Regions from separate parts of the Homo sapiens genome. Here regions 2, 3, 4, 5 and 6 are each linked to region 1. The links are contacts of gene promoters, found by promoter capture Hi-C in blood cells and fetal thymus (Javierre and others, 2016). All regions are on one chromosome and are shown on one strand. The core of a region is centred on a gene start or on the middle of the fragment in contact, and the rest is flanking DNA. Distances in the headings are between cores, read along the strand shown. Region 1 holds the start of LINC01220 (long intergenic non-protein coding RNA 1220). Region 2 overlaps BATF (basic leucine zipper ATF-like transcription factor). Region 3 overlaps LOC105370572 (a long non-coding RNA gene). Region 4 overlaps NEK9 (NIMA related kinase 9). Region 5 overlaps TMED10 (transmembrane p24 trafficking protein 10). Region 6 holds the start of JDP2 (Jun dimerization protein 2).

Evidence for each region. Contacts are between HindIII fragments. The CHiCAGO score rates a contact against its expected background, and 5 or more counts as called.
Region 2: a contact is called between a fragment that was not itself captured here and the fragment with the promoter of LINC01220 in region 1, in 1 of 17 cell types (activated CD4 T cells). The highest score is 9.0, in activated CD4 T cells.
Region 3: a contact is called between a fragment that was not itself captured here and the fragment with the promoter of LINC01220 in region 1, in 2 of 17 cell types (activated CD4 T cells and naive CD4 T cells). The highest score is 7.3, in activated CD4 T cells.
Region 4: a fragment that was not itself captured here is called in contact with the fragment with the promoter of LINC01220 in region 1 in 2 of 17 cell types (endothelial precursors and activated CD4 T cells); the score reaches 6.2 in endothelial precursors.
Region 5: a contact is called between a fragment that was not itself captured here and the fragment with the promoter of LINC01220 in region 1, in 14 of 17 cell types (total CD8 T cells, activated CD4 T cells, total B cells and 11 more). The highest score is 19.0, in total CD8 T cells.
Region 6: a contact is called between the fragment with the promoter of JDP2 here and the fragment with the promoter of LINC01220 in region 1, in 1 of 17 cell types (monocytes). The highest score is 13.5, in monocytes.

The regions. Positions count from the first base shown.
Region 1 is chr14:75,293,056-75,295,834 of GRCh38, forward strand. LINC01220 (long intergenic non-protein coding RNA 1220) reads left to right here and starts at 1,349. Exons shown (of 3, transcript NR_038421.1): 1 at 1,349-1,486; 2 at 1,622-1,682. RefSeq lists an enhancer at 917-1,056 and a silencer at 1,127-1,586. The HindIII fragment of the contact is 10,176 bases long and covers 1-1,658 here.
Region 2 is chr14:75,535,780-75,538,558 of GRCh38, forward strand. All of the region lies in intron 2 of BATF (basic leucine zipper ATF-like transcription factor), which reads left to right. Among named protein-coding and RNA genes, the nearest start is that of BATF, 15 kb to the left of the region's middle. The HindIII fragment of the contact is 5,692 bases long and covers 1-2,779 here.
Region 3 is chr14:75,518,686-75,521,464 of GRCh38, forward strand. LOC105370572 (a long non-coding RNA gene) reads left to right here. Exons shown (of 3, transcript XR_944037.3): 3 at 1-1,089. Among named protein-coding and RNA genes, the nearest start is that of BATF, 2.4 kb to the right of the region's middle. The HindIII fragment of the contact is 1,347 bases long and covers 654-2,000 here.
Region 4 is chr14:75,090,538-75,093,316 of GRCh38, forward strand. NEK9 (NIMA related kinase 9) reads right to left here. Exons shown (of 22, transcript NM_033116.6): 19 at 733-941. Among named protein-coding and RNA genes, the nearest start is that of ZC2HC1C, 22 kb to the left of the region's middle. The HindIII fragment of the contact is 1,986 bases long and covers 444-2,429 here.
Region 5 is chr14:75,152,127-75,154,905 of GRCh38, forward strand. It overlaps TMED10 (transmembrane p24 trafficking protein 10), which reads right to left. Exons shown (of 5, transcript NM_006827.6): 2 at 1-17. Among named protein-coding and RNA genes, the nearest start is that of TMED10, 23 kb to the right of the region's middle. RefSeq lists an enhancer at 238-902. The HindIII fragment of the contact is 480 bases long and covers 1,100-1,579 here.
Region 6 is chr14:75,426,643-75,429,421 of GRCh38, forward strand. JDP2 (Jun dimerization protein 2) reads left to right here and starts at 1,380. Exons shown (of 4, transcript NM_001135048.2): 1 at 1,380-1,610. JDP2-AS1 (JDP2 antisense RNA 1) reads right to left here and starts at 1,013. Exons shown (of 2, transcript NR_184172.1): 1 at 828-1,013; 2 at 1-69. RefSeq lists enhancers at 149-248, 499-828, 849-908, 876-1,433 and silencers at 1,099-1,368, 1,619-1,798, 1,859-2,028. The HindIII fragment of the contact is 6,934 bases long and covers 1-2,779 here.

The sequences.
Region 1 (2,779 bases), core at 99-2,598:
GTCTCCTTATGTTGCCCAGGCTGGTCTAGAACTCCTAGGTTCAAGTGATCCTCCTGCCTTGGCCTCCCAAAGTGCTGGGATTACAGGCGTGGGCCACAGCGCCCGGCCCCCTTTTATTTTAAATCTAAAGAAGACTCGAGAAAAAAAACATTACGTCAGTAGTAGATTTAGGAGATGCACTACTAATACTACGTAAGTTTCTCTTGTGCTGCCTGGGAATAAAAATAAACACTTAACACTAACTTGGGGCTCACAACATGCTTGACACTGTTCCAAACACACACACACACACACACACACACACACACACACACACTCATTTTAAAAGTCCTCATCTACTCTTAAAGGTAGGTCCTGCTATTATCCTTATTTTTGTAGATAATAATATAGTCTGGGGCGCAGAGGTCTGCTCAAGATCATCCAACTGGAGTGGCAGCGCTGGAATTAGAGTCCAGGCAGTGTGGCTTCAATGCCTGAACTCTTAGCCATTAGAAAGGAAAAACAAAGCAAAATCAGTATCCGCAACAACCTTGCAGGCACGGAGGCCCTCAGAAGGGACAGGAGAGGCCGGGCGCGGTAATCCCAGCACTTTGGGAGGCCGAGGCGGGCGGATCACCTGAGGTCAGGAGTTGGAGACCAACCTGGCCAACGTGGTGAAATCCTGTCTCTACTAAAAATGTAAAAAATTAGCCGGGTACGGTGGCGCGCGCCTGTAGTTCCAGCTACTTGGGAGCCTGGGGCGGGAGAATCGCTTGAACCGGGAGGCAGAGGTTGCAGTGAGCAGAGATCGCGCCAGTGCACTCCAGCCTGGGCGATAGAGCGTGACTCCATCTCAAAAAAAAAAAAAAAAAAAAAAAAAAAAACAAAGGAAAAGAAAAAGAAGGGACAGGAGGGCCTCCTTCCGCTCCTGACCAGCCCCTGCTGGCCCGTGGGCAGAGGGAGAGCCGGCTTCCAGGGACCTCAGGGAGGGACGTTTGGGAGTGCTCTCTCAGCGTCCCCTCCACCGCCCTCTCTACACCCTTGCCGCGCCCCTGTCCTCGTCGGCCAGGCCAAGGTTTCTCCTGGCCCTTCCCAGCTTCCGGCCCTTTGCTCCAGGGCAGGTCGCAGGGCCAGACGGTGCCAGGAGCTCGCGAGTCCTCTGTTTACTGTTTGGTTTCCACGGTGACACGTAGGCGCCGTCAGCGACTCCCGTCACCGCCCCGCAGCGCGGCCCCCACCCGGCGCCGTGACGCCGGCCCGCCGCTTCCGCTCTGCCCATATTTGGCTCAGCCACTGCGCCGCCGGCCCGGGGTAGGCTGTGGGCGGGACTCCCGCCGCGCCCCGCCCCCGGTCCCTGCCCCGCCCCTGGAATGCTGGGCGAAGGCTCCGAGCCACGAGACCCCCGCCTCCTGTCCCGGGACCCACCCAGGCGGAGGCAAGGGCAGGGGCGCTGGGGGCCCAGAGAGAGGGCGCCGCGATGGATGAATGAGCTGTTTCCAGCATTCCTGTGCGTCTGCTGGTTGTAGCTGCAGTCAAGATTTGGGGCGGTCTCGTTTGTTGTGGGTGGGTGATCTGGGATCACGATTTTCTCACTCTGTGCCCGGAAATCATGCCATCTCTCGCCCAACGCTGTATTTTATAGGCTTCAACTCAAAATTTTCCTTCATGGCACAGTGGAAAGCTTTGAAGACGGCGGTTCTGGGGTCAGTGTTGCCCCTCGGGGGATAAGTGACCTTGGGAAGGCCATTTTCCTTTTCCTGGCATGATAAAACGAACCGTGGGGGTGGTCCATAATGGTTGCAGCACTGTCATCAGGCTTGTGAGGGGAGCTTTTCCATCACCCTCTAACCACCCCCTCCCCAGGACATAACTGGAATATCAGTGAAGTTCTTTGAGCATCGACCCCCTACAGTTCTGCCCCCTGTGGTGATTGGATTTGTGTGTCTCTGCACCTTGCTCCTATTAGGCGCTTAATGAACTTTAGTTAACTGATTATTGAATGAATAATACGAATCACCTTCATAAATCCGGACCCCTGCAATTCCTCTTCCAGGCCGGGCGAGGGGGAGGGTAGGGGATGGGGGAGAATATTGAGATGATTAATAATCGCGCGGCAGGGTTGCTGATGTAAAGCGATTTGCAGATCTAAAGGGCAATAAGCATTCCTGGGAGAAATCCAGCGAGATTCCAGAAGTCTCTGAGGGAGCCGTGGGTGTGTACCGCCGGGCCCAGAGGGCGGGGGTGGGGCAGGCAGTGCCGCAGTGGCCGCTGCTGGGGAGCCGATTGCAATTGCGAGGAGAAGCGTGGGGTTAATCCTTCAAGACGCCTGTCACCATCCTCCCACCCCCATCCCTGCCCCCTAGATTCCCCAGTTCCTCTGGCTGAAGGAGTGTGTGTTTTCCAGAGTTTCAGAGCTGGAAGTCACATCGGAGACTTTTAATCTAATTTAACCTATTTCGCCAACAGGGAAATTAAAGCTCAGAGAAGTTGGTTCGACCATCCAAACTTGCACAGCTAGTTAGAAACTGATAAAAGTCAGGATATCTAGCTTCAAATAGTGTTCCACATCGCCTAGGTGCTTCTAATTTCCTGTGCTTCAGAACCCTGTTGCCTGGCTCAGCTGGTGGGTTGTACATTTAGGCTAAATATTGACTTCAGGGCTCTTAAAGAACGCCATTGTCACGTCTGCTGCCACACGCAGCCCACACCATGACACCAGGGCCTGGGGGGGATGGCCAAGAATTGTGTACTTCCTAAAGCCTCAAGCATTCCTCCTTAGAGCAGCTGGAATGGTCACCCC
Region 2 (2,779 bases), core at 104-2,603, 240 kb after region 1:
AAGCTCTTATGAAAACTCAGAAGTGATAAAGTTCAGAGTCAAGTAGAGGGGACTGGATTCCTATGACCAAAATGTGATTTCCTGCAACTGAGGACCCTGTAACTAAAAAAGGGTACTCAGCTGGCATAAGAATATGTCTTATCATTAAGAGAGTAGGATGACACAGAAAATTATAAAGCAAAGGCCATATTATCAGTACTAGAGCTGAGATCAGCGGAAGTGATTCATCTACTCAACAAATATTTATCAGCCAGGAACAGTTCGTTCTAGGCACTGAGAATATTGCAGGGACAGGACAGACAGAGTCTCTGATTTCACGAACCTTACAGTCAGTTGGAAGTCAGGCTGGAAAACAAATAAACACACTAATCACATGACATGTAAAGTGCTTCAAAGAAGATGAAATCATGCAATGTGGAAAGTGTCTAAGGGACGGGATTGGGGCAGCGATCAGGGGAGGCCTTCCTGAGGCCCTGGAATTTGAGATCAAAGGTGAATCAAAGAGGAGACTGGAAAGATCTGGGGAGAGGGTGATCTCAGCCTAGAGAGCCTTGAGGCCAAGCTGCGAGGCCAGGCAAAGGTCAGAAAGGTGCTTGGTAAGGTGGAGACCAAGTTCAAGACCATAAGGGAGTGAGGAGGAACTCAGTAATAATGGCAATTGTAGGGCTGAGCACAGTGGCTCACACCTGTAATCCCAGCACTTTGGGAGGCCGAGTTGGTTGGATCATTTGAGGCCAGGAGTTCGAGACCAGCCTGAGCAACACAGTGAAACCCCATCTCTACAAAAAAAAATTTTTTTTAAATATCCAGGCATGCACCTATGGTCCCACCTACTTGGGAGGCTGAGGCGGGAGATTTGCTTAAGTCCAAGAGGTCGAGGTTGCAGTGAGTTGTGATAGCACCACTGCACTCCAGCCTGGGCAACAGGGCAAGATCCTGTCTTTAAAATAAAATAAAATAAAATAAAATAAAATAAAATAAAGGCAATTGTGCTGCTAGGAGCAGGAACTGGATGGGGCATGTGGTGGGGACCCAACTAATTCAAACCCTGCCTGGGGGATTTCTCTGAACCTAAACTCTGATCATAAGTTGAGAAGCAATAGCACCTCACTAGGCTGTTTGACCGTTTAATTGAGAGGGCAAATGTAAGAACAAAGCAATATTGTCATTTTTTTTTTACACTGTTCCTTTGTTTAATGCAGACAGCCTGCCCTTTTCCTAGAAATCAATCAGATATATTATCCTACATGAACACACACGTTCTTCTTTCTGGTTGCTTATAAACTCTTTAAGGATATCAGTAGTTTCAGGGGCTTGGCCTTTCACAACTAGGCAAGTCTCCTTTGTTGGGTATGAATGGAGAGAGGGTCAAATTTGAACTAGGGAAATGGCACGACGAAGTTCTTAAAGTGGTTGTAATTCTGCCACTCCCACGCTGTTGGTTCAGTTTGGGGAATAAACAGAGGTTTGACCTAGGCCTTTTGAAAAAATGAATCTCTTGGATTCATTTGGAAGTATCCCAGATTTACAAAGTAGAAGCTATTAAAGTGTTTGAGTGGTGGTTAATCACTCTCTAGGAATTCTCATGGACATCACAGATTTACTCAGCTGACCCTTCTTCATAGGCACATCTCAGATTTTGGAAAATTATTCCAGATTATAAGTTGGCAGTCAAGCAACGTGATTTGATCGAACACTTACTCTATGGCAGGCACTGTCCTTGTCACTGAGAACAAAACAGTGAAGACAATAATAGCTCCTGCCCTCACAGAGCTCAACAATGTAAATGGTAAGGAAACGAAACGGTTAAAGTTATAATTAATGAAACACGAATAGATCCCTGAGCTCTTGCCTTTCCATTATATGAATGAACTGTGCTGGACTATTTAGAATTGTTTCCACCAATTTAAGAATATAATAGTAGTGTGCTTAAATGGACATTTTGTTTTAGAAATTTTTTTAACTAGAAATAGTCTCCCAACTCTTTAAATTTTTTAATATTATACTATAAATGATAAAATAAAATACATATTTAATAAAATGAAAATATGTAAAAATATAAACTCTTTAAGGATATCAGTAGTTTCAGGGGCTTGGCCTTTCACAACTGGGCAAGTCTCACAAATTTAATTTGTTTGTTAACAAACAAATTTAATAAAATCAAACACTATATAGTTATGTTATATTTTTATTATTTTGAGATAAGGTTTCACTCTTTTCCCAGGCTGGAGTGCAGTGGTGCGATCATGGCTGACTGCAGCCTCCACCTCCCAGGCACAAATGATCCTCCCACCTTGGCCTCCCAAATAGCTGGGACTACAGGTGTGTGCCACTATGCCTGGTTAACTTTTAAATTTTTTGTAAAGATTGGGTATCACTATGTTGCCCAGGCTGGTCTCAAACTTCCGGGCTCAAATGACCCTCCTGCCAAAGAAGCCTCCCAAAGTGCTAGGATTACAGCAACTGCACCTGGCCTTATGTTATTATTAAAAGGAATCCACTATGAACATGATTTTTTGCCCATTTGGCTCACTTAGGAAGCATTTTTAAAGTCTTGATGCCTGCAACCACTCCAGAACAATTAAATTGGAACCTCTGGGGGTCTGGCATCCAGGAATCCAGACTGTTTAAGGCTCTCCGGGTGCTGGCAGTGTGCACAGCCAGGGTTGAGAATCAGAAGCAGTACATTTGCAGCCTATCAGGTCTGTACCTGAATATGTGGAGTGAGTAGAATGTGTGGAGTGAGCAGAATGTGTGGAGTGAGTGTGGGGCAATTGTG
Region 3 (2,779 bases), core at 77-2,576, 230 kb after region 1:
TCCACATACATAAAATGGGGTGAGGTGGGGAAACGGTGCTTACCTCCTGTGACTGTCATGAGAATTAAATGGAGCCAATTCATATACTATTCCCGGTACACAGTAAGTAGCATATGGCAAGGATGCTAGGTATAGTTGTGCAGGTTGTTCACTGTTCAAGGGCTCCAACCTGAGAGGTCAAGTGAGGGCTTGCCAGGCCATACGCTTTGGTATGAGGTTGCCTACCTAGAGGTGGCGCTGTTTTCTAGTTTGTACCAGGCCCTATATCAGCCAGCTGTCAGCATAAGGGTTTGTAGTATCCAGCAACCACTACCTTAATACTATCTTTAGGCTTTAGGCTGATGTTCACTGAGCGCATGCCAGTTTTATTATAACTGTTACTTGGTAGCTTCCTGGAGTTCTCCAGGATAACATCAGTGGGATGTGTATATCCCAAACCTTGCCATTACCATTCAGATACAATGCTGAAAATCAAATAAAAAATATTAGCAAGGTAAAAAGTTTAAAATCCTGCAGGACAATATTATATATTGCTTAGGCATACATACAGGTTTGGTTCAAGTATAGAAAAATGCATAAGAATGATAAACCCCACATCTGGATAATGGGTTACCTGGGGTGGGGAGGAAGCGGAATTAGAAAGGGATGAAGGAAGCTTCGGCTCTATTCATAATTTATTTCTTCAGCTTAATGGTGGCTACATAAGTGTTTATTATTTTTTAATCTTAAATATTTAAAAATAATGTATAATTAATACTATTAAATAAGACCCGTCTTTTTATGTAAAAACTAATTTTGCATTTCTCTCATTAGTCTCTGTTAAATATTAAATCAGTACATTGATTGGGAATGACAGAATCAAGCAATCATTCATTCAACAAGTGTTTACTTGTTGAATGATAGGATGTTCAAAGAGCTAAGAACTTCATCCATACGCTGTAATACTTAGAACGCTTGTAACATTTATAATAACCTGTTTGGTTATTTGACTATGTTTTCTTTTTTCTGTGAGAGCAGAGTCTCTGTCTTATTCATATTTAAGAATTCTGCTCTGTAATAGGTGATAAATAAATGTTAATTTAAACCGAATGAAACATAAATATGACTATTATTGTCCTGAAAGGGCTTTCAATACACTAGGATAATGCAGGTCATAAGTGCCATAAATGAAGAGCAAAGTGAATTCACTTATGCATTCATTCGTTTGAAAACCATTTACTCGGCATCTGTTAGGTACTGAGCATATGACTATAAACAAGAGAAACACAGACTTTGGTTTTTACAGGGCCCACTTCTCACCACTTTCATCACTGTCTAACTGGCCTATGCTGCCAGCATCTTTTGTTTGGATGGTTGCAGTAATCCAATACTGAAATCCTGACTCATCTCCCTGCTTCCACTTTGCTCCCCTATCGTAAAATCTCAACTGTGTCCAGAGAGATCCTCTAAAAACCTAAGTCAGATCATGTCACTCCTCTGCTCTGACACCTCCAATGGCTTCTCATCTGTAGGAGATTGTAGAAATTGCCACAATTAGTTAAATTTTTCCTATCGAGAAGTGAAGTCTGTTTCTCAACTCATTGAGTCTGAACTGGCCTTGTGACTCTCCTCGGCCAATAGAATGTGGCAGGTTCTGAGTTCTGTGCTAGCTCTGAGCCTGGGTTCCATGGGGCTTCGAATGCTTCTGCTCCTACTCTTGGAATCCTGCCACTATCAAATAAACATGCTCCGACCAGCCTGTTGGTGGATGAGAGACCATGTGGAGGAGAAATGCCCAAGGCAAAGCCAGGCCAGACCAGTCAATTATCAGCCAACCTACCAGCTGTCTGAGGACACATGACCGAGCCTAGCCGAGATCAGCCTAGCCCAGCCTATCCCCAAAGAACCTTTCAGATGACCCACAGACTCATGAGCCAAATAAATGGCTTGAGTCATCGAAGTTTCTGGTAGTTTTTTGGGCAGCGAACACTGATAGACTATCTCATTTAGACAAAAAGTCAAGCTTCTTTTTACTAACTGTATCCTCAGTACTTAGTGCCTGGCACATGGTAGATGCACCATGAACGTTTGTTGAATATATTAATAAAGGTGTAAATGGTTTTAACATTCTATTGAGGGAAACAGGAAAAAGATAAATCAGTAAACGAATAAAATAAGTATAAAATTGGGTAACTGCTATGGGAGAAATGAATAGTAGCTGAGGTAGAGGATAAGAATGAAGGTGGAAGGGGAAACCCTCCATGGGCTCACTGTGTCTTTCAGAATGAAAGCTAAAATCCTGATGTTGGCCTCTAAGGCCCTCCCTGACCGGGCCATTACCTCACTGACCTCATCGCCTGCCACTTTTGCTGCCTCTGATATCCAACTACCTGGCCCCCCTGCTCTTTTTCCAATACTCAAGCACACTTCCACCTCAGGTCCTGGAATGTCCTTCCCTGAGACACTCACCATTCACTCCCTCTCTTTCTTCGAATCTCTGCTCAGGTATCCCCTCTTTGGGCAAGGCCCTTCTGACCACCCAGAATTCCCTAACCTCCAACCCTGCTTTATTTTCCTCCATAGGAAAGGAATTTTGTCTTACTTAATTTAACCTTAGGGCAATATTGTCTTAGTCTAGAAATTCAGCTCATGGATACAAAAATCCTCTAGGAGCCGTAACTTCCTGTCAATCCTAAAATTTAATAAGGCAAATGTTTGGCTTCGAGCCATACTGGGAATAAGGTAAGGCCTTTTGAAAAAGCCACGATGCCCAGGTGAGGGTTGAATTGATCACTGAGAA
Region 4 (2,779 bases), core at 187-2,686, 200 kb before region 1:
TGAAAATAAATATACTTCAACATTCTTACTTTTTTTTTTTTTTGAACAGGGTTTTGCTTTGTCACCCAGGCTGGATTGCAGTGGTACAATCATGGCACAGCTCGGCTCACTTCAGCCTCGACTTCCCAGGTTCAAGTGATCATCCTGCCTCAGCCTCCTGAGTAGCTGGAACTATAGGTGCACACTACTACACCCGGCTAATTTTTTAAATTTTTGGTACAGACAAGGTCTTGCTGTGTTGCCCAAGCTGGTCTTGAGCTCCTAGGCTCAAGTGATCCTCCTGCCTCAGCCTCCCAAAGTGCTGGAATTATAGGCATGAGCCACTGTGCCCAATCCAACATTTTTACTTTCTGTATCTCAACTTTCATCAACCATTTTCCTATTGTAAGGCATTCCAACTGCTCCAATATTCCATTTCTATAAATGACAGTATAAAATCTGTAAGCTTAATCTTTATATACATGTACTACAAAAACTGCCATCAAGGTAGGTTATAGTAACTTATAATACATTCACTTAAGTAACAAGGGTATGAGAACATTTTTTATCTTTTTGGAAAGAAAAAAGGATTAGTGATTAGGCAATTTCTTTCCAGGTAGAAATCAGAAGGCTGGATTCAGGATGCACAACAGTTTACTAGGTACTTGGAAAACTGAGAGACCCTGACAGCTCTTTCTAGTTCCTGCAAAGGGCCACATATTTTATCCAAGTTACTTCTTCCAAAGGAATTACCTTTCGAAGCCAGCCAGGACAGGAGCTGCTGGCCCCATTACTGTTCCCCATGGCCTCTGTGGGACTGATTAAACCTTCCATTCCTCGGTCTGCTTCCATTGTTCCTCGGAAGCCTCCACTTGGGTCAGGAGTTTCAGATTCCTGCTGACTGTCCTCTTCTTCACCACCGCCGCCCCCGCCGCCTCCTCCCGGGCTAGAGCTCTGAAACACTGACAGATATACAGCACAGAAATAGACAGCTTTGCTATGCAGCAAGACAGATTTACCATTTGACAACCCTACTTACCCTGGAAAGGTGCCTATAAGCTGCATGAAGTGCAATGGCAACAGTGCAAGTCAAATGTTAGGGACTAAATTTTTGGTTTTCATACAAACTATGTTTTGTAATTTTGTATAGTTGTATTTGTATATCAGGATGCTCATAATGATAATTCACTTCCATTTACCAACTTTGTTTATCTTGTATCCATAGCAGGTTATCAATATTCTAAAAGCATTACCAAACAATCCCCCCAACCACAGCCCACCAAATCTAGCACCCATGCTTACTCTGCTTCTTTAAGAGATACATTCAGATTCCAGCATCCTCCATAGACACTTATCTTATATAAAAAGGTCTTTAATATTTGAGCCAAACTCCTCTTAAAGTTGCCAGATAAACTTACCATTAACTCCCTGTCCGGGGAAAATCTGAATGTTGAATTCTTCAACTTTTTTTTTTTTATTTGAGACCGAGTCTAGCTTCTGTTGCTCAGGCTGGAGTGCAGTGGCCCGATCTTGGCTCACTGCAACCTCTGCCTCCCAGGTTCAAGCAATTCTCCTGTCTCAGCCTCCCGAGTAGCTGGGATTACAGGCACACACCACCATGCCCAGCTAAGTTTTGTATTTTTAGTAGAGGCGGGGTTTCACTATGTTGGCCAGGCTGGTCTCGAACTCAGGTGATCCACCTACCTTGGCCTCCCAAAGTGCTGGGATTACAGGCGTGAGCCACTGCACCCAGCAATTTTTTTTTTTTGAGGCACAGTTTCATTCTGTCATCCAGGCTAGAGTGCAGTGGCACGATCTTGGCTCACTGCAACCTCCGCCTCCTGGCTTCAAGTGATTCTCGTGCCTCAGCCTCCTGAGTAGCTGGGATTACAGGTGCCCGCCACCATGCCTGGCTAATTTTTGTATTTTCAGTAAAGACAGGGTTTCACCATGTTGGCCAGGCTGGCCTTGAATTCCTGACCTCAAGTGATCCACCCGCCTCGGCCTCCCAAAGTGCTGGGATTACAGGCGTCAGCCACTGCGCCCGGCCAATTCTTCAAAATTTAATGTGAATATTACATTCTCTGACGACTATCTGTATCCATTTTTATAATATAATGGCTGATTCTTTCATATCATACAGCATATTCCAAGCAACCTTAATGAAGACTAGCTGATGTGTGGTCAGGAAATGAAACTGAATTTTAATATGGGCCAAATAAAAATATAATTAAGAAGATTAATCTGTCAAAGTTAAAGAAAAATTGCCTGGTATTTTCTTTTTTTTTTTCTCTTACTCCTCAGGGATCCTTGTTCTGATGCCTGGTATTTTCTGAGGCTAAATGTAAAGAAGGGTTAATTATCACCTGCTGTGCTGGCCTGGGGACTAACTGGGTCATGCTGAGATCCTACGGAAGCAGCAGAACTATAGTTACCAAAGTGAGTTCTGAAGCTTACTTTTTGTTTTAAATGGCTTTTTAAGATTATGCTGCATTTTAGATATACCTAAGACTATTTTAACATACGTGTAAATTTTCATGCCTAACAATAAACATAGGTCTATTTGCCACTAGAACTAGAATTGCACTATCCAATATGAGTTACTAGCCATATGTGCCCGCTTAAACTTAAAGAGAATTAAAAATTCAGTTCCTCAGTCACACAAGCCACTCTCTGGAGTGCTCAATAGCCACAGAAAGCTGGTAGCTACTATACTGAACAGCACCGATATGGAACATTTCCATTGTTGCAAAAAGATCTACTGGACACTGCTGAACTAGAGCATTACCTATATCACTGT
Region 5 (2,779 bases), core at 90-2,589, 140 kb before region 1:
CCAGCAGAATCTGTGATCTAAAATAAGAAAAGTAGTAAGAATAGGCAGCAAATAACACTCAGGAAGAGAACTTACAGAAACTGGGAAGATAGAGACACTATCTATGAAAGACAATTGATAGTTCTCATTATGATGACTATGTTCCAACCATCCCCAAAGACAAAAACTGGATTAGAAGATTAAATCCAAATACAGCAAATTTCATCCATTCAAATAGCCTAATCACACTGTGGGCTAAAATCTGTTGCTGCTATAGGATGTCTTACCATACCAAAAAGTTAATCTAGCTAATGCTCCAAGTTACATACATTGGATTTATTGGCAAAAACTCACTAGTATCATTCCGCATAGAGGAACATGTCACAAAAATGAAAGTAGACAATTATCAAAAGATTATACAAGAGGGACAAAGATATATAAAAACACATTTATTCTATAAAACAAATTTGATGGGGAAGGGGTGTGGGTGGAGAATAAAATTAGGACACACAATACAAGGACAGCAGGAAGAAAAGCATACATAGAGAAGACAATCCAGGAGATCTATTCCTGCAAATTTCATGTTAATTATGTCAACGGCCAGGTAGAGTGGGAACAAAACACAGGAAACAAAAAAGAAGTTTCTGGCCAGGCATGGTGGCTCACGCCTGTAATCCCAAACTTTGGAACGCCAAGGCAGGAGGATCACTTGAGCTCAAGAGTTCAAGACCTGGCTGGGCGCGGTGGCTCACGCCTGTAATCCCAGCACTTTGGGAGGCCGAGGCGGATGGATCACGAGGTCAAGAGATCAAGACCATCCTGGCCAACCAACATGGAGAAACCTCGTCTCTACTAAAAATACCAAAATCAGCTGGGCGCAGTGGCATATGCCTGTAGTCCCAGCTACTCAGGAGGCTGAGGCAGGAGAATCGCTTGAACCTGGGAGGCGGAGGTTGCAGTGAGCCAAGATTGCGCCACTGCACTCCAGCCCAGATGACAGAGTGAGATTCTGTCTCAAAAAAAAAGTGTTCAAGACCAACATGGCGAAACCTCATCTCTACAAAAAATACAAAAATTAGCCAGGCATGGTGGTGCGCACCTATAGTCCCAGGTACTGGGAAGCTTGCCGTGTCACTGCAGCCTGGGTGACAGAGCAAGACTCTGTCTCAAAAAAACAAAAACAAAAACAAAAAGGAGAGAAATTTATCCTAAAAAAAAAAAGGTATCTTTGGCTTCCATAAATGATTATTCCTTTCTTCTAGATCCTTAGCTTTAGCTCTTCAGACTTAAGCTGCTCTATTACCAAAGAATGGCCTATCAGCACAGAATAAAGGGCATATACTGCTAAGTAAACAGCCACATACAAAGCAAGGGAATTCCATGGTAATTTAACAGACTGGATCTTAGCCTTCATTTCTAGAGCACGTGGCTGTCTTAGTAGAAAGCATATTTCATCACTTAAGACTGGAAGCTACTTTGCAATGTGGAACACAAAAGTAGTGGCTTAATTACATTAAACTGGATGTTCTAATGCTATTTGTTAAAACATAATTCTTTTAAGGGGAAATTTTAAGCAGGAAAATTAAGTAGCACACATTTAAGCTTATATATTTAAAAGTACTTTATAACAGTAGTTATTTCTGAGGGGTGAGACTTTCTATTTTTTTTTCCCTTTTTTTTTTTGAAATGGAGTCTCACTCTGTCCCCAGGCTGGAGTGCAGTGGCGTGATCTCGGCTCTCTGCAACCTCCGCCTCCCGGGTTCAGGTGATTCTCCTGCCTCAGCCTCCCGAGTAGCTGGAACTACAGGCACCCACGACCATGCCCAGCTAATTTTTTTGTATTTTTAGTAAAGACAGGGTTTCCCTGTGTTGGCCAGGATGGTCTCGATCTCCTGACCTCATAATCCAACCCGCCTCGGCTTCCCAAAGTGCTGGGGTTACAGGCGTGAGCCACCACACCCGGCCTTTTTTGAAAATGACATGTAGCCGGGCGTGGTAGCTCTGCCAGGTGCAGTGGCTCACGCACCTGTAATCCCAGCACTTTGGGAGGCCGAGGCAGGTGGATCACCTGAGGTCAGGAGTTTGAGACCAGCCTGGCCAACATGGTGAAACCCCGTCTTTACTAAAAATACAAAAAAAAAAAAAAATTAGCCAGGAGTGGTATTGGGCGCCTGTAATCCCAGCTACTTTGGAGGCTGAGGCAGGATAATCGCTTGAACCCGGGAGGCAGAAGTTGCGGTGAGCCGAGACTGTGCCACTGCACTCCAGCCTGGGCAACACAGCGAGACTCTGTCTCAAAAAAAAAAAAAAAAAAAAAAAAAAAAAGGCATGTATCACTGGATCACTTATATTCAAAAATAATAATAAAGTTATTTTATTTTGGAAAAAATTGATAATAACTAAAGAAAAGTTATCACTACTAGATAAATTTGAAATGACAGATTAACTAAAAAAAGTTTTATGGCACATCTTCTAAATTCCCTAATAAACAGTAGTATTAGTCAACTGTCTTCTGCCATCCAGCACCATTTGCTAATTTGTCAAACTTTTAAATTTATTTTTATTTATTTATTTTTGAGACAGAGTCTCGCTCTGTCACCCAGGCTGGAGTGCAGTGATGCGATCTCGGCTTACTGCAACCTCTGCCTCCCGGGTTCAAGCGATTCTCCTGCCCCAGCCTCCCAAGTGGCTGGGATTACAGGCACATGCCACCACACCCGGCTAATTTTTTGTATTTTTGGTAGAGACGGGGTTTCACCGTGTTAGCCAGGATGGTCTTGATCTCCTGACCTCGTGATCC
Region 6 (2,779 bases), core at 130-2,629, 130 kb after region 1:
TGTCATTGGGACTTGGTCTGTCTCTCCTTCCATTAGCCCACTTCTTTTATCCAGAAAGATTTCACTGCACTGGGGAAATAAGGAGAATAAAGTCTCATGCACTCACTCACATGAGAGAGACATGCATGTTCGGGTTTGCTCAATGGCACCCATCTGTCTCAAGTCTTGTTGTTTCTTTCACTCTGAGCATCTGCACTCCAAGAAGGCATGAACTTTTTCTTTCACTTCCTTTCTTCTATGGGTGATGACCTGACATCACTCTCAGAAGGAGGCCGAAAGTCGCTGAGTATAAAAATCGTCACTCCTATCTGGCTTAGGCAGAAGGTAGGGGGCTCGATGGGTACCCAGGAGCTCTGGAGGTAGGAGATGCCATCTAGGGAACCCCGTTCTACCTGAGGGCTCTGTGTCTCTGCCTTTGTATACTGGAGGGCACCATGGATGTCGCCTTCCCTCTGGAGTCCCCTTCACCATTTCCTCTCTAGAAGGATGGAAGGTGGGAGTGGGGTTGGCTATTGAAGCTGGAACGGGGAAGAAGGCCACTTGGGGTCTGCTGAGGGCTGGGTCTGCTCACTGCTGTGTCCGGAGTGGAAAGGAGAAGCCCGCTGGAGCAGGGTACAAGCCCAAGGGTCAAACTGCGCCAGCAGTAGAGCAAGCCGCGGTCTCAGGCTGCAGCCCTAGCAGAGGTCAGGCTGGTGCAGCCAGCCGTCTCGGGGCCTAAGGGCGCTGGCGGGGGCCGGTGGGTAGGGGTAGGAGTCCCCAAATGCCTTCATCTCAGCCCATCCTTCTCCACCGAAAAATAAAGCAGGCTGGCGAGATCGCCTCCTCACCCGCTCAGTCCTGAAGTGTCCAAGGATGAAACTGTGCGGAAATTCTCCCTGTCGCTCTCAGTTTGTGGGGGAAGCGCCGGGACTGAGGTACATGGTTAACACAGGCTGTGCGTGAAGGGGCTTTTGACTTTTCCCCCGGCTCCGGCCTCTCGCGTCTCTCTCCTAGGGCTGCGGCTGCTGCTGCCTGGCGGGCACAAGCCGGGCGGCGGTGCGCGGGGGGTGCGCTTACATAACCGCTCGCCGCGTCCTGCTTTCTCGAGCGCTCCTGCACCGTGGGGTGGCGGAGCCGGGGGACTGCATGGAACCCGGGACGCCCCCGCGGGGAGAGGAGCGCGAGCGGCCGCGGGAGGAGGGCGCCCAAGGCGGCGGGGGAGGTTAAGGTCAGTGGGTGTGAAGCGCCGGCTCCACACCCCCTCCTCCCCGGTCCCCTCCTTCCCTTCCTCTCCGTCCCCCTCTGACGTCTGGAGCTGGCAGCTCGGCCGGTTCCGCATTCCCGACCCCTCCCCGCCGCCCAGGGGCCGCTATATAGCCGGGGCTGATGCAACCCGTCCCGCCGCCCGCCACAGCCTGCGGGAGGGACGCTCGGCGGCCGCGACGGGGGGCGCTGGCGGCGGCGGACGCTGCAGCGGCGGCGGGGCTGGCGCCGCGGCGGCTCCCGGGCCGGGACAGGCCTGGGCACCGGGCGGAGCTCCGCGGCCGGGCGGCAGCGGCGCGGAGCGGGCACGGCGCCTGCAGCCGGGCCCCGGCCCCGGGGGCGCCGCCTCCCCCCGCACCTTCTGCACGGTGGGTGCGAGGGCGCGCGCTGGGGGCGCCGGGACGGGCGGGGCGGGGCAGGGCGCGGCGCGGGCACCTGGGACGGCCGCCCCCGCACGGGCGGAGCGCGAGGAGCCCCAGCCCAGCCCCGCGGGGAGGCTCCCGCAGCCCAGGGACCTCGAGCTTTCCCCGCGCCGGGCGCTGCAGCCGGGCCCCTCCCGCGAGGCGCCCGGCAGCCTGAGGCTTCCTTTTGGTTCCCGCCCCGGGACGGGAGGCTCCGTCCGCTCCCTGGACAGCCGGGGTGCTCCCTCCTTCTCCCTCCCGCGCTCTCCTCCCCCGTCCGTTTGCAGGGAGGTGCTCTCCTCGGGCGGCGGGGAAGGCGGGGTGAGTGGGGAGAAAAGTGCCCGCGGAGATGGGCTGTGCGGGTGGAGGTGGAGGGTGAAGGGCCAGGGAGGTGCGGGGTTGGGGTCGGGGTTAGATTGTGGAGGGATGACAAGGACCTCCTGGCAGTGAGGAAGCGCGACTCCCGGAGGACCCGGACCCGGAGGAGAGTATTGAGAAGGGCTCGGGATTTCCATCCAATGAAGGCAGCTTCTCTCATGGCCATTGCTTCGGAGCTCTGGGCTGGGAGGGGATCTAGGGGTGGCCGGGGTCCCCTTTGGGCTCTCCTGTCTCCCACGCCAGGTTATATAAGGAGGCAAGCAGGCTCCTGTAGGTAACCAGCCTCTCCCTTGCCCAGCCCAGCTTAGAAGGCTCTCCTCTGCTCCTCCCTTCAAAGGAGGTTGTCGAGGGGTAGGGGTGCAGTGGGGGGTGGGAGAGTGTAGGGGTGGATTGGGCCTTCCACCTGGATCCCTGGACCCTGGGATGGCAGAGCCAGGCTTTGCCTGGGTCAGTAGGAGGAGCAGGGAAGATGAGGAGGCTGGGGAAGATGGGGAGGTCCTGGCTCTTTTGCAGGGATGGAGAGGCTGGTGGAAGGAGAAATCAGCCGACCCCCTTGGGTCATCTCCAGTTGCAAGATGGCGTGGCCCTTGCCCAGGGTGCTGCCCTCCCTGTTGGAATCCAGGGCATGGGGCTATGGCCCGACCACGTGTGCTCAGGGCAAATGTGCTCAGGTCTATATCTCAGAAAGGGCTTGCAGCCTGCTTAGGCGTGTGTACCCAGGCTTAAATCTTGGTGGTCTCTCCCTAGGGTCTTAATTG